Linked DNA regions of Homo sapiens: all the other regions are linked to region 4. The links are contacts of gene promoters, found by promoter capture Hi-C in blood cells and fetal thymus (Javierre and others, 2016). All regions are on one chromosome and are shown on one strand. The core of a region is centred on a gene start or on the middle of the fragment in contact, and the rest is flanking DNA. Distances in the headings are between cores, read along the strand shown. Region 1 holds the start of NRDC (nardilysin convertase). Region 2 overlaps BTF3L4 (basic transcription factor 3 like 4). Region 3 overlaps TXNDC12 (thioredoxin domain containing 12). Region 4 holds the start of CZIB-DT (CZIB divergent transcript).

Region 1 (3,076 bases), core at 299-2,798, 1.3 Mb before region 4:
TCCGTTTCAAAAAAAAAAAGGAAATCAGCAAATGATACACTGAATTTGGTGTCAGATAGTAGGGGTCATCATACCAGCTCTGTTATTATTTAGCTGTGTGATTCAGAGCAAGAAGCAAACTCTTTGGGTCTCAATTTCCTCAACCTGTTCAACGAAGTTATTGGACAATATGAACTCTATTTAAAATACATCAAAGTCCAGGCCTGGCACAGTGGCTCACGCCTGTAATCCCAGTACTTTGGGAGGCCAAGACAGGAGGATTCCCTAAGCCCAGGAGTTTGAAATTAGCCTGGGCAACATCGCAAGACCCAGACTCTTATTAAAACACACACGCACACACACACACGCAAGATACATCATAGTCATGATACTCCATGAAATAAGCTACCTCTGAAGGAAAATACTCAGGTGGGGACTGAATCACCAATTATTAGAAATGTTTAGAGAACTCCTGTACAAACCAAAAGTAGAGAATTTCAAGGTTAGAAGAAACCTTACAACTCACCCAACTGAGACCTAAGCCCTCTCTAATATATTCCTGGACGAGGTCGCCCAACCGTTTTGGTAATGGAGAACTACCCATGGAAACAAGTCACTTCAACTTAGGCCAAATATGATGCAAAGTTACTTTACTGAAGCCACACCATCCTCTGGTAACTTTCGTCCACTAGTTTCACCTATCACTTAAGTGTCCCTCAAATATTTTGGATAGTGATAATATGCCCCTTAAATATCCTGTCCTCCAAATTAAAGTATCCAACTCCGTCAACCTTTCCTGGTAACATAATACCAAGACTCCCTCACCATTCAGGCTGCGTTCCTCAAAGAAACCTTCATTCTTGCTTTAGCGACTGTATTCAAATGACTCGAAAAGCTTCTCCCATTCTGACGTCTTACAACCCAAGATCTCCCACTTGCCCAGCTGACACCACAGGGAAGCCTCTAATCACGCTTGCCACCTCCACCCAAGGAAGCATTTGGGGTGGAAAGTGTGCCCTGTTGCTCCATTGGGAGACATGGAGACAAGAAGTGACGGCGGCACCGACAGAGAAGCCGGCACACTGTTCGCCTCCCCATTGCAAGCCTCCTCCCTCACCGGTATTGCTTGGGGTCGCTGGGAGACTTGACGATCTCAGGGTCCCCAGCATTACTGAGAGACCCCCTCCGTCCCTCTTCCTCAGATTCATCCGCTCCTAGACGGGCAACCCGGCTGTTCTCGCCCAGATCCTGTCCATTGGGCTGCAGGTCAGGGCAGCTGCAGGTAGACTTCGCCTTGTTCCTTCCAGGCATGGCCAGAATAGGAAAGGGTCTGGCAGCAGCAGAGTCTTCGCACCGACCCCGCGTTTCGATTCCCCAGAGCGCCGCGAGCTCCCGCCCGGCCTCACACAACTTCCTCCGGGTGGCACAGACTGCAGCAACAGTGACTCTCCTCAGCATTCACCACCAAGCTGGAGCGATGGACATCCCGCTTCCCAGGACCCACCTCCTCCGCGTTCTAGAGGCGGTGGCGGCCGGCCCTGGTGCTGCCGCAGCCGCGGGGAACAGGCCTGAACCCCTCCCCCAACCCAGTCTCCCTCTCGCCGACTTCCCTCGTCCCTCCGCCCTCCCGGCCGCCGATGACGCTACTGATTTCAGCCAATCATGAGGCAAGAAAGTAGTCACGCTCACGTAAGCAACCAATCAGAACAGGAAAGGAGAGGCACCAACGTGACCCGGACTGATTCTCGGAACAGCCAGCGAACATTTCGAAACCCAAAGTGGGCGGGGCGAGGGAGAAGAAGCGGAGAGAGTGGCGCGGAGGACGACGGGAGAAGGGCCCCCGGCGCGTTTATGACGTACGAGTGTGTTTTGTGGAAACCACTGAGTAGTGCTCCGCGTGTCAAAGAAAAATATTCCCCTAATGAGAAAACTGAGAAACGAGTGCAGAGAATTAATTCCAAAGTTTTAAATTTTCCCATTCGTGTCATAGTTTGGGTACCCTACTCCTCAGACCCGGGGCGAGCCTTCGGCTGTGACTCAGCACATAAAAAACCAGAACGCCGGAAGTATTTTCCTACACCCGCCGGATGGACGCTGCTCCCGAGCGCCGCAAATACTAATTGGCTCTTCTCTACCCTACAGTCGGCCCGACAGTGGTGGGGTTTCATCCTCAAGCCCTAAGAAAGTGCTAAAAAGACCAGTCTGGATGTGCTAACTCTTCTGTGTGAAAACGTTTTTTAGCTCCTCCAGCCTCCTGTTAAATTCGGCCAATTTTTATCGAGCAGCTGCAGCGTCTGCTGCCTTCAAGTCTCCTTTCCCAGTTTTTCCCGCTAGCAGTGGTCTTTGGTTAGCAATGTAAAATGTGACGGAAATACAAACATAAATGAAAGCTAAAAAGCAGCTGAAATTAGTAAGATGCACTATACTGACACCATGGGGTAAGAGATCATAGCTCATACATACGAATGAGCGGGGAAAGACGTGAAGCAGGGAGATGTGTTGATAGTTACTGTATCTTCAAGGTTTTCGAGGCCTCTTCTGAGTTCCAAATGCAAGGAATACAACCATGAACAAAACAAAACTTGCCTTAGGCTGGGCGTGATAGTGATAGCTCACACCTATAATCCTAGTACTTTGGGAGGCCGAAGCGGGAGGATTGCTTTGAGCCTGGGAATTTGGTACCAGCCTGGACAACATGGTGAGACCCCCGTCTGTACAAAATTCTTTTTTAAAATTAGCCAGGCTTGGTGATGCGTGCATGTGGTCCCAGCTACTCAGGAGGCTGAGGCAGGAGGAACGCTTGAGTCCAGGAGGTCGAGGCTGCAGTGAGCCGTGATTGCAACACTGCACTCCAGCCTGGTTGACACAGTGAGACCCTGTCTAAACAACGACAACAAAAATTTAAAGCCTTGCCTTGGGGGAGCTTGCATCCTAATGGGAAGGAACTGTAAAATATGTAAACTAAAGTAAATCAGGCTTTTAAATAATTCAAGTTAGCTTTCTTCAGAAGTCTTATTGAGGACTGCCACCTGGGAGAGTCAGAGAGTTTTTTTTTTAGACTGCTCCAAAGCAGTGTTTCAGCCCGCAGCTTCTATAC
Region 2 (3,256 bases), core at 114-2,613, 1.2 Mb before region 4:
AGTGTTTTTAGCTGCTTCAGCATTGTGATACAGCGCTGAGCAGAGTGAAGAATCATAAATTCTAAATATTATTTGGGATCTGGACATTAGCCTTAAAGAAGAGATAGATATATAGGTTATTGCCTAAGGATAGTGTCAAAGTACAAAATGGTTAGTAATTATATAGTCTTTGATGCTGCTTTTTTTAATCTCTCAAATGAAGCAAACAGTATTTTTTTCATGTGAATGATGACTATACAGGGTTTAGAGAATTGGCCAAAGAAGATTTGATAACAACCTAGTCCCTTATTCCCTCCCTCACATCTCAGTAATGATTTGTTGATCTGCAGAACAAGTAAAACAAGACTTTTAATTTGGCTTTTTTTTTTTTTTGAGACGGAGTTTCGCTCTTGTTGCTCAGGCTGGAGTGCAATGGCATGATCTTGGCTCACCGCAACCTCCGCCTCCCGGGTTCAGGCGATTCTCCTGCCTCAGCCTTCTGAGTAGCTGGGATTACAGGCATGTGCCACCACGCCCGGCTAATTTTGTATTTTTAGTAAAGACAGGTTTCTCCATGTTGGTCAGGCTGGCCTCGAACTCCCGACCTCAGGTGATCCATCCGCCTCGGCCTCCCAAAGTGCTGGGATTACAGGCGTGAGCCACCGTGCCGGGCCTGAATTTGGCTTTTCTTTGTTTATGTAATGTGGAATGTGATGACCCATTATAAACTTAAGAATGTTTTTTTCTTAGTGGGATTATCACTGACCAGACTAGATTCATGACTATAATTTTAGAATCTTCAAAATCAAGATTAACTTTAAAAAGCTTGTTTTAGGAGTCTCCTCTCTGCCCCCCCCCAACATTTATTACTGTAGCAAAGATATGTTTTTGTTAAATTGTGCAATGAAGCATTTTACCCTGTATGCAAGAATGTCTTGACAAGTATAACATACTATATCAGTGCAGGGTATTGAATGAACTCTGGAGAGTGCTGCAGAAGCACCAAATGTCTGAAAACCTGGTTCTCTTTCCCCATTATTAACATACCATCTGACCTTGAATAGAGGACATGACTACTTGATATCTTGACAGCTAGACAGCCTTTTGTTGAATTTCTTCTTTGTTCAGCTTTTTTTTCCTTTTGTCATCTTTATGGTTTATAAGAAATACAGAATGTGATTTGGGAGGAAAAAAATCTACTTGAAGATTTTGCTAATAACATTTGGTAACAGCTCTCTGCTGTAAAAATCTTTGGGGGAAAAAAACTGGCTTGCCTACAGAGATTTCATAATTGGTTAGGCTTAACTGAATGCCAAAGGATTGAATCATGTTTTAAGGAGGGATCTTTGAATAGGTGACTTTGAATCCCATTCTACTTTCTGTTTGTATATTTGATTCCCTCATGGTAATTTAATTTTGATTTTTAAAAATATCTGGTTTATGAAGCTAGAACAAGTTATTAATGTTTATTAAGAATATAGACAGTATTAATATGGTCATGGTGTTGATGCATACTACAAGCTCAGTGAACCAGAAGGTACTGTTGCATAAACAGTTTGTTAATTTCGGCAAAAGAGTGACTTTAACAAATCTATTTTTCCCCCCCTAGATTTACCAACAGCATGAATCAAGAAAAGTTAGCCAAACTTCAGGCTCAGGTCCGGATAGGGGGCAAGGTGAGTGTGGCATAAGAAAAATTGATAGGAGAATGTATGATTACCAGATAGTGTTATTATTTCGGATTTGTGGTCATTGAAAATCTAAAATCTTTTCAATAATCAAGATCAAACCACATTCCAATTTGAAAATAACTTGTCTAGATCTAAAATAGGTAACTAGAACACTTTTCTCTCTGATGATGCAATGGAAATAGCCACATTTGTTTGAATCCTAACTCTTACCATCTGCTAGTTATATGATGTGAACAAGTTATCCAACCTTGTTAAGCTTCCACTTTCTTATCTGCAAAATAGAAATAATCCTACATAAGGTGTTTAAAGATTAGGGTAATATTTATAAAACACCTAATGTGGTGTCTAGCACAGAGTAGATGCTTAATAAATTATAGCTATTATTATGGTTAGACTCACTTGCAGGGCATACCAGATGTTAGGGTTACTTTGTCTTGACTGGATGTTACCTACTTGTACAGAGGTTTAGCTGGAGATGCTTAAGTTGATTATATATTTTGTTCATTGCCAGGTTTTCCTCACAAATTCTTACCTGTTCTTCCATGTTGGTGAATATGAATATCAGCTTTCTTATTCCCTGTACTTTTTAAAGCCTAAGGAAGAACTAGTTGTGAGCAACTGAAGTCTTTGATTCTCTTCAGCTGTGGCACCAGGCTCAAGGAGAATATTCTACCCATATCTCTGCCCAACACAATCTTTGCAAAAGTGAAAGAAAGAATAGTACTTACCTCAGACCTGAAGTGGTAGGTAGGACACTACTTTTTGTAGTGGGTCCCACTGTGTCATTTACACTGATGATAACCACAGTTCCTGGGGATGAGCACAAGGGAAGGGAAGGGAAGAAGAGCCAGTACTTTCTCCTTCTCCCACAGTGATACAGTTATATGAGTCTGGAGTTAGAATAACACACTCATGTAACCACAGTAGTCACATTGTAGCATCAAGTGTGATGTGATGTGCCAATGCAGAAACTAGGGATATTCAAGAACCATAGAATATACCTAGAAGAGCTTGATGTACCACATCGCCATTGTGTATTTTAAAACTGTGGTTGGTACATTCGATTTAGCTGTTGTATATTGAGCACCTACTGTGTGCCAGCACATAGAAGATAAACAAGATCACAGCTCTGCTTGGGAGAGAGATGCTCACAATTATAACGCAGAATAGTGAGTGTTATAATGAAGTACAAGGTACTCTTGCCTAGTGGAGACAAGGAAGTTATCACTGAGCTCTTGTTTAAAGGATAAACAATTTATCACTAGGCGAAAAGGTAATGGCTGGCAGAAAGGTAATGGGTGGTGGCTCACGCCTGTAATCCCAGCACTTCGGGAGGCTGAGGTGGGTGGATCAGTTGAGGTCAGGAGTTCAAGACCAGCCTAGCCAACATGGTGAAACCCTGTCTCCACTAAAAGTACAAAAATAGCCTGGTGTGGTGGCGCATACGTGTAGTCCCAGCTACTTGGGAGGCTGAGGCAGGAGAATCACTTGAACCCGGGAGGTGGAAGTTGCGGTGAGCCAAGATTGCACCACTGCACTCCAGCCTGGGCAACAGAGCAAGACTCCGTCTCAAAAAAAAAAAAAAA
Region 3 (3,369 bases), core at 487-2,986, 1.2 Mb before region 4:
TGTTACAGTATTTCTAAATGATTATTGTTATATAATCATTGAAAATAATTTTTCATTGGTAGCTTATATAAAAAACTAGGATACAAATGTATCTATAGTCTGGTTTTAATTATAAAATATGTACAGAGAAAAGAGCCTAAAAGAAAATGTACCAAAACATAATAATAGCAGTTTTCTGTGGATGATGGGACTGTGGATGTTTTCCTTACACTACATCTGTATTTCATGATTTTTCTACAATATAATTTTCATAATCAGGGAGGAAACTGTTCACAATGAGCAATGCAATCCACCCGAACCAGACTGGCTAGAGGAAGCTCTTAAGCTCTCAAGGCTCAAATGACAGTAGGAAGACCCCATGTAAGTAGGTAGCCATTAGCTTTCTCCATCACACAACCCCATGTCACCATAACAACATACACTGTATAATAGCTACCATGCACTTAACATATTGATCTGTACCTATTATTTACCCATCTCCCTCCACTGGACTTGGAGATTCCTAAGACAAGGAACTCTTAGCTGTCTCTATATCCTTTACATCTGACACATATATTATTGATAGCAAACACTTATATACCATTTGCCATGTGCCAGGCACTACTGTAAATATACATAAATTAACTCATTTAATAAGTGTCAAATGAATCATTCAGTCACCTCACCTTAGGCCTACCTCACATCTGGATGGACTTCTGCCTGCAATACTTGTAAAAGCTTGTAAACCAAATGAGCAGGGCAAGTTTAGGTGGGTAGTAGGATATAGGTAACCATAATAGCCAAAATGTGCTGAACGTTTATTATATGACATTGTGCTGTATATGCATTATCTCATTTAAATCCTCAAAATAACCCTAGGGTAGATACTATTAATGGTCTCACAATAGAAATGAGAAAATTGAGATGCTCAATAGAGTAAATATTTGGCCCCATAAAATCTAGGTTCTAGGCCGGGCACAGTGGCTCACACCTGTAATCTCAGCACTTTGGGAGGCCGAGGCTGGAGGATCACTTGAGCTCACAAGTCCAAGACCAGCCAGGGCAACATGGTGAAAACCTGTCTCTACAAAAAAATACAAAACTTAGCCGGTCGTGGGGTGCATGCCTGTAGTCCCAGCTACTCACAGCACTTCACTCCAGCCTGGGAGACAGCCAGACCTTGTCTCAAAAATAAATAAATAAAAAAAAATAAAAACCCAAAACAAAAACCTAGGTTCTGCCACTTACTAGCTAACTCAGAAGTCCGACTCCAAAACCAATGTTCTTTCTGACGGTTACAGTCTACTTCAATTTAGAATGGTAATCCAGAATCCATGGTTAGACCCAATTCAATCAATAACCAACTTAATGAAGGTTGGAAAAAGCCTTTTGAGTTTGCCTCATCCAGACTTCCATTTCACACATGAATCCTGTTTATCAGAAACAAAAGGTAGTATAGATTACCTGATGAGCAAGGAATATACCATCAACCAAGGCAGCCCATCTACCCTCTCTTTTAACAGCTCCATAGTTTCAGAGCATGCATGTTTTCGAATGTCTTGCTTTCTCTTTTCTCCCTGGCAAACATCTGTTTATCCTTCTAGAGCAGGGGTTGGCAAACTAGGGTCTGCAGGCCAAATCCAGCCCACCGTCTGCTTCCGTAGGGCCCATGATATGCAAATATTTTGTTGTATATTTTTACATTTTTCAATGTTTGCAAAGCAAATCTAAAGACTCCTTTGTGATATGTTAAAATTAATTGTAATTCACATTTCAGTGTAGTTTTATTAAAATACATTCATGCTTATTTGTTTACTTACCATCTATAAGTAGCAACAGCATTTGATGGTCCACAAAGCCTAAAACATTTACCATTTGGCCCTTTACTGACTTTATTCTACAGTGATGGTTCAAATGTTAACTCCTCTTAAAACCTTTCCAAAACCACCTCCCCCAACAGCTAGTTAGTCCTCTTCACCAGGTTTCCAAAGCATTTTGTCTTTTGTCATCATCCTCTGACCACCAGCCCATTTCATCCTATCTTTTTTTTTTTTTTTTTGAGATGGAGTCTCCTTCTGTCACCTAGGCTGGAGTGCAGTGGCGCGATCTCGGCTCACTGCAACCTCCGCCTCCCGGGTTCAAGCGATTCTCCTGCCTCAGCCTCCTGAGTAGCTGGGATTACAGGCACGTGCCACCACGCCCGGCTAATTTTTGTATTTTTAGTAGAGATGGGGTTTCACCATGTTGGTCAGGCTGGTCTTGAACACCTGACCTTGTGATCCACCCGCCTTGGGCTCCTGAAGTGCTGGGGTTACAGGCATGAGCCACCGCACCCAGCCTAATTCTATCTTTTACTTGTATTTCTCACCACATATCTCTTTTTGTTTGTTTTTCAAGACCCAGTTTCACTGCTGCCCAGGCTGGAGTGCAGTGGTGCGATCTCAGCTCACTGCAACCTCCACCTCCCAGGTTCAAGCGATTCTCGTGCCTCAGCCTCCAGAGTAGCTGGGATTACAGGCACACCATCACGCCCAACTAATTTTTGTACTGTTAATAGAGACGAGGTTTTGCCACGTTGGCCAGGCTGGTCTCGAACTCCTGACCTCGATTTTGGACTCCCAAAGTGCTGGGATTACAAGTATGAGCCACCACACCCGGCTTCTCACCACATATCTCAAGAGCAAAAACACTGTATCTAATTGGTCTTTGAAAATCACAGCCACTGTTAAAGTAGGTACCTACCATTTGTTCAATGAAATCAATGAAGAATGAAAGACAAGCTTACAATGATATTTGCCTTGAAATGCAGAATGAAGCAAAACAGTTACGGAAATTGTCATAATATAATTACTGTAGAGTAGCTCAAAACATCTACTCTCTCAGAACTATCAAAATACTACTTCACTTAAAGGCAGAACAATGACAAGTATACCTAAAATGTTACATGAAGTTACACAGGGAACATTAAGTGAAAGAGATTCCAGTAGACTATTTTAAAAGATTTTATTAGAGGAAATAATCTAGTAGATAACTTTCTTACTTCCACAAAAACAAAGTTTCTCAAGGATACAAACCAATGGATTTATCTGTGAACTCGGTCCCAGAATAGAAACTAGCAAAAAGTCAGTACAGTACTCAAAAAATACTTTTGTGGTATGAAAAAAGGGCAGGTGCAGATGTAGAACTGTACCATCTTCAGTTTCTGTTCACAATTGTTTTAAAACAATTCTCATCTATCCAGTCTGCTCTCCCACGCCTCAGATGAGGGAAGCCAATGGTCAATGCTCTGTGATAGCCCAAGTAGGATCCAATCTAGGTAATCCCTGTCCACCTTAGCTCTGTCCTCTGAGGGATTTGCCAGGTTGCACCACAATAGTTCTCCATTCTCTT
Region 4 (3,151 bases), core at 446-2,945:
CCCCTTGATTTTGAACTCTGCCTCATACCTCAAAGATGCCTATTGAATCCAGTGCTGATCACACTGACACCTACCCTCCCAAACCACAAAAAGCAGGGAGCAAAGAACTGGAGAGATGAAGGCCAGTTTCCCCAAATCCCTGCCCAGAAGTGTATGTGTGTTTGTGAGTGTTTATGTTGGGGGTTGGGCGGGGAACAGTTACCATCAGCCGGATGTACTGCCACTTGTCCGAAATCTCACCACAGTTGCCACATTTCATCTTTGGGGAAAAAGAATGTTAGTAAAGCAGCTGGCTCTGCTGCACAGACACCAAGGAAAGGGTAAGAACAGTGGGAGGTGGGCAGGCTCATGATCTACCTTCTTGATGGCAATCTCACTTCATCCCTAACACCTGCCCCAACAAGGACAAAACTAGAACTATCTCTGGGCAAAGGATAGGTAAGGCTGTTTCCTATGCCGGCGTGCCCACCCTCCTCTATGAAGTGCTCAGTGTGGCCGGGGATTCAAGGCACCTGTGGTGCAGAAATGGTTTCAGCGGAGGTGAGGGGGGGGAATATGGAGAGATTTGTTAGAAGATACAAAATTACAGCTATATGGGAGGAATAAGTTCTAGTGTTCTATAGCACTGTAGGATGACTATAGCTGACAATAATATATAGTTTCAAATAGCTAGGATATTAAATGCTCCCAACACAAAGAAATGATACACGTTTGAGGTGAATATGCTAACTACCTTGATCTGATCACAATACATTACATTTATCGGAACATCACTATATACCCCATAAATATGTACAATTCTGTGTCAATTAAGAAAAAAAAAGAGAAATGGCCTCAGCAGGCCCCCGACCCACTCTGCTTGGTTAGCTTTATGTTCCCACAGGCCCTGTATGTCACTGGTATAAGCACTTATCACTCTATTGTTACTCTATTTTTCTGTCTCCTTCACTCGATTCCGCTTCTTCAAGCCAAAGAACAGATTCTCCCAAGTAAGCCCTGGTATTCAGGCTTCAAAATCCTGGGAAACAAAAGTAGTCCGGAGGCAGCTTCCCGAAAAACAGGGCTTTTGAGAGGTACAGAAGGATGCTGGGATTTTTGACCAGGAGTAAAACAGAGCAGAAGCTCTGGGATCTGGAAGAGTGAAGAGCCTCGAACTGCTGGGGAAGGGGAGGCCTCTGTAGACCATGCCACTAGGGTACCAGCTTTACCAGTGTGGGAGGGCTAAGGAAGGGTGGATTACGCACAAAATTAAACTATTTCACAATAAAGAAAACCAAATCAATAAACGAAAGGCGAACTATTCACCTTATTAAATAATCACAAGCGTCCCTTCAAGTAGCATTTCGTTTAGTGTCCATTTACAGACCACGAAATATTTAACACAGGGAAGAACTACAAAATGAAGCTTTCCAAGACTGCCAATTAGAGATAAACCAATACACTTTAATAGAAAGCAAACGTAAAATTCTAACTAGGAAAACCCCGAACACTTAATGTGCCTGGTTAAATATTTTCTCATACTGCCGGAGAGAAGGCTCCGGTTCAGCACTGAGATCAGGACGGGCCTCCTCTCCCCGGGCCCCGCCCCGGCCGCACCTTCAGGTACCACCGGAAGTCCTCGCCCACGGGCCGGAGGTTGGTGATGTTCTCCAGCGTGGCTTTGAGTTGCAGCGCGATTTTCTGAGGGGGAGGGCCAGAGCGACTGCGTCAGCCGTGCCTGCGCAGCCCCACGCCTGCCCGACCCTCCCGCATTCCCAGCCGTGGGTGCCACAGGGAGACACTCCTTCTGCCTCCTGCTCCTTCAGCGCGCACCCACTCGCTTCATCTCCTCCTGGCGCGAGCTGTTGCCTCCCAGACCCTCGCCACCTCCCCTCCGTGTCCCCGCGGCGGGCGGCCTCCCCTCACCCCCATGGTAGCCCTCTCCGCCCGGTGCTGGCTGCGGCCCTTGCCGTTGCTTTCCGGCGCGTCGTAAAAGGCGGGTGCCGTCTGCGCACCCTCAGTAGGGCGGGGCCGGGGCCGGGCCGCGGGGCAGGGACTTCTGCGCGCCGCTGCTCGCCTGGCCCACTGGGCTTTTCGCATCTGGGGATCTGGGGCCAGTGGAGGTCAGCCAGGTCCGCGAGCAACCTGTGCTCAGGCCAGCGGAAGCCTGACTCCAGGATTCGGTGGTGCCACAGACAGTTACTGAACGCCAATTTTGTGCCTGCTTTAAGCGAACAGGACAGTTCCTGACCCTCAGTTCTTTCCAGGCTCTTCACTACTCTGCCTGCCCTGGAACTTCTCAGATCACGTCAGCTCCCTCTGCCCAGGGGAAAAGCTACAAAAGGAAGAGTTCCAAGACTGCCAAATAAAGATAAACCAATACGCTTTAAAAAGTAGAATGTATTGGTTTATCAGATTTGGGGATGATGCCTTTCTTCAAACTGCCCTTTCCTGTTTCACCCAAGAGACCTGGTTTCTAGGCCCTTCTCCAGAGTTTGCCCTGTGTCCACATCCTTCTCACTGTGGTCCTTGCGACTGGACATTCCCCTTCAGCTGGCTCTTTTTTGGGAGCCCACCTGGCTTATCCTTCTCTCATAACGTTTATTGAACTTTATTTTACCTGGCCTCCTGTCCAGGCTACATCTGAGACCATGCAGGAGCTGTGGAGATTAACGGTAAAAGGAACAGCACATTCAAGACTCTTCTAGGAGGTGGGGCAAGATAGCCAAATAGAACCCTCCAGTGATCCTCCTCCTCCTCTTCCCTGGCAGGAACACCAAACTGAACAACTATCCACACAAGAAAGCACCTTCATGAGAACCAAAACTCAGGTAGCAATCACAGTAGCTGGTTGTAACGTCACATCAAGATATAAGGCAATGGCTGGGTGCGGTGGCTCACACCTGTAATCCCAGTGCTTTGGGAGGCTGAGGCGGGCAGACCACCTGAGGTCAGGAGTTTGAGACCTAGCTGGCCAACATAGTGAAACCCTGTCTCTACTAAAAATACAAAAATCAGCCGAGTATGGCAGTGCACACCTGTAGTCCCAGCTACTCCGGAGGCTAAGGCAGGAGAATTGTTTGAACCCGGGAGGTGGAGGTTGTAGTGAGCTGAGATCATGCCATTGCACTCTAGCCTGGGTGACAGAGTGAGACTCTATCTCATAAAAGAA

The links. Contacts are between HindIII fragments. The CHiCAGO score rates a contact against its expected background, and 5 or more counts as called.
Region 1: a contact is called between the fragment with the promoter of NRDC here and the fragment with the promoter of CZIB-DT in region 4, in 1 of 17 cell types (fetal thymus). The highest score is 6.0, in fetal thymus.
Region 2: a fragment that was not itself captured here is called in contact with the fragment with the promoter of CZIB-DT in region 4 in 3 of 17 cell types (naive CD4 T cells, fetal thymus and total B cells); the score reaches 5.6 in naive CD4 T cells.
Region 3: a contact is called between a fragment that was not itself captured here and the fragment with the promoter of CZIB-DT in region 4, in 1 of 17 cell types (fetal thymus). The highest score is 5.9, in fetal thymus.

Annotation. Positions count from the first base shown.
Region 1 is chr1:51,877,179-51,880,254 of GRCh38, forward strand. NRDC (nardilysin convertase) reads right to left here and starts at 1,549. Exons shown (of 31, transcript NM_001101662.2): 1 at 1,097-1,549. The coding sequence starts at 1,437. RefSeq lists enhancers at 1,539-1,833, 1,717-1,896, 2,287-2,840 and a silencer at 1,587-1,636. The HindIII fragment of the contact is 5,345 bases long and covers 873-3,076 here.
Region 2 is chr1:52,058,247-52,061,502 of GRCh38, forward strand. BTF3L4 (basic transcription factor 3 like 4) reads left to right here. Exons shown (of 6, transcript NM_152265.5): 2 at 1,589-1,655. The coding sequence starts at 1,602. Among named protein-coding and RNA genes, the nearest start is that of BTF3L4, 3.6 kb to the left of the region's middle. The HindIII fragment of the contact is 1,122 bases long and covers 803-1,924 here.
Region 3 is chr1:52,029,140-52,032,508 of GRCh38, forward strand. All of the region lies in intron 2 of TXNDC12 (thioredoxin domain containing 12), which reads right to left. It overlaps KTI12 (KTI12 chromatin associated homolog), which reads right to left. Exons shown (of 1, transcript NM_138417.3): 1 at 2,964-3,369. Among named protein-coding and RNA genes, the nearest start is that of KTI12, 3.0 kb to the right of the region's middle. The HindIII fragment of the contact is 2,042 bases long and covers 716-2,757 here.
Region 4 is chr1:53,218,665-53,221,815 of GRCh38, forward strand. It overlaps CZIB-DT (CZIB divergent transcript), which reads left to right and starts at 1,696. Exons shown (of 1, transcript NR_185918.1): 1 at 1,696-3,151. CZIB (CXXC motif containing zinc binding protein) reads right to left here and starts at 1,970. Exons shown (of 8, transcript NM_017887.3): 1 at 1,906-1,970; 2 at 1,597-1,680; 3 at 203-259. The coding sequence starts at 1,911. RefSeq lists an enhancer at 1,371-1,872 and silencers at 1,742-2,111, 2,242-2,301. The HindIII fragment of the contact is 4,059 bases long and covers 1,404-3,151 here.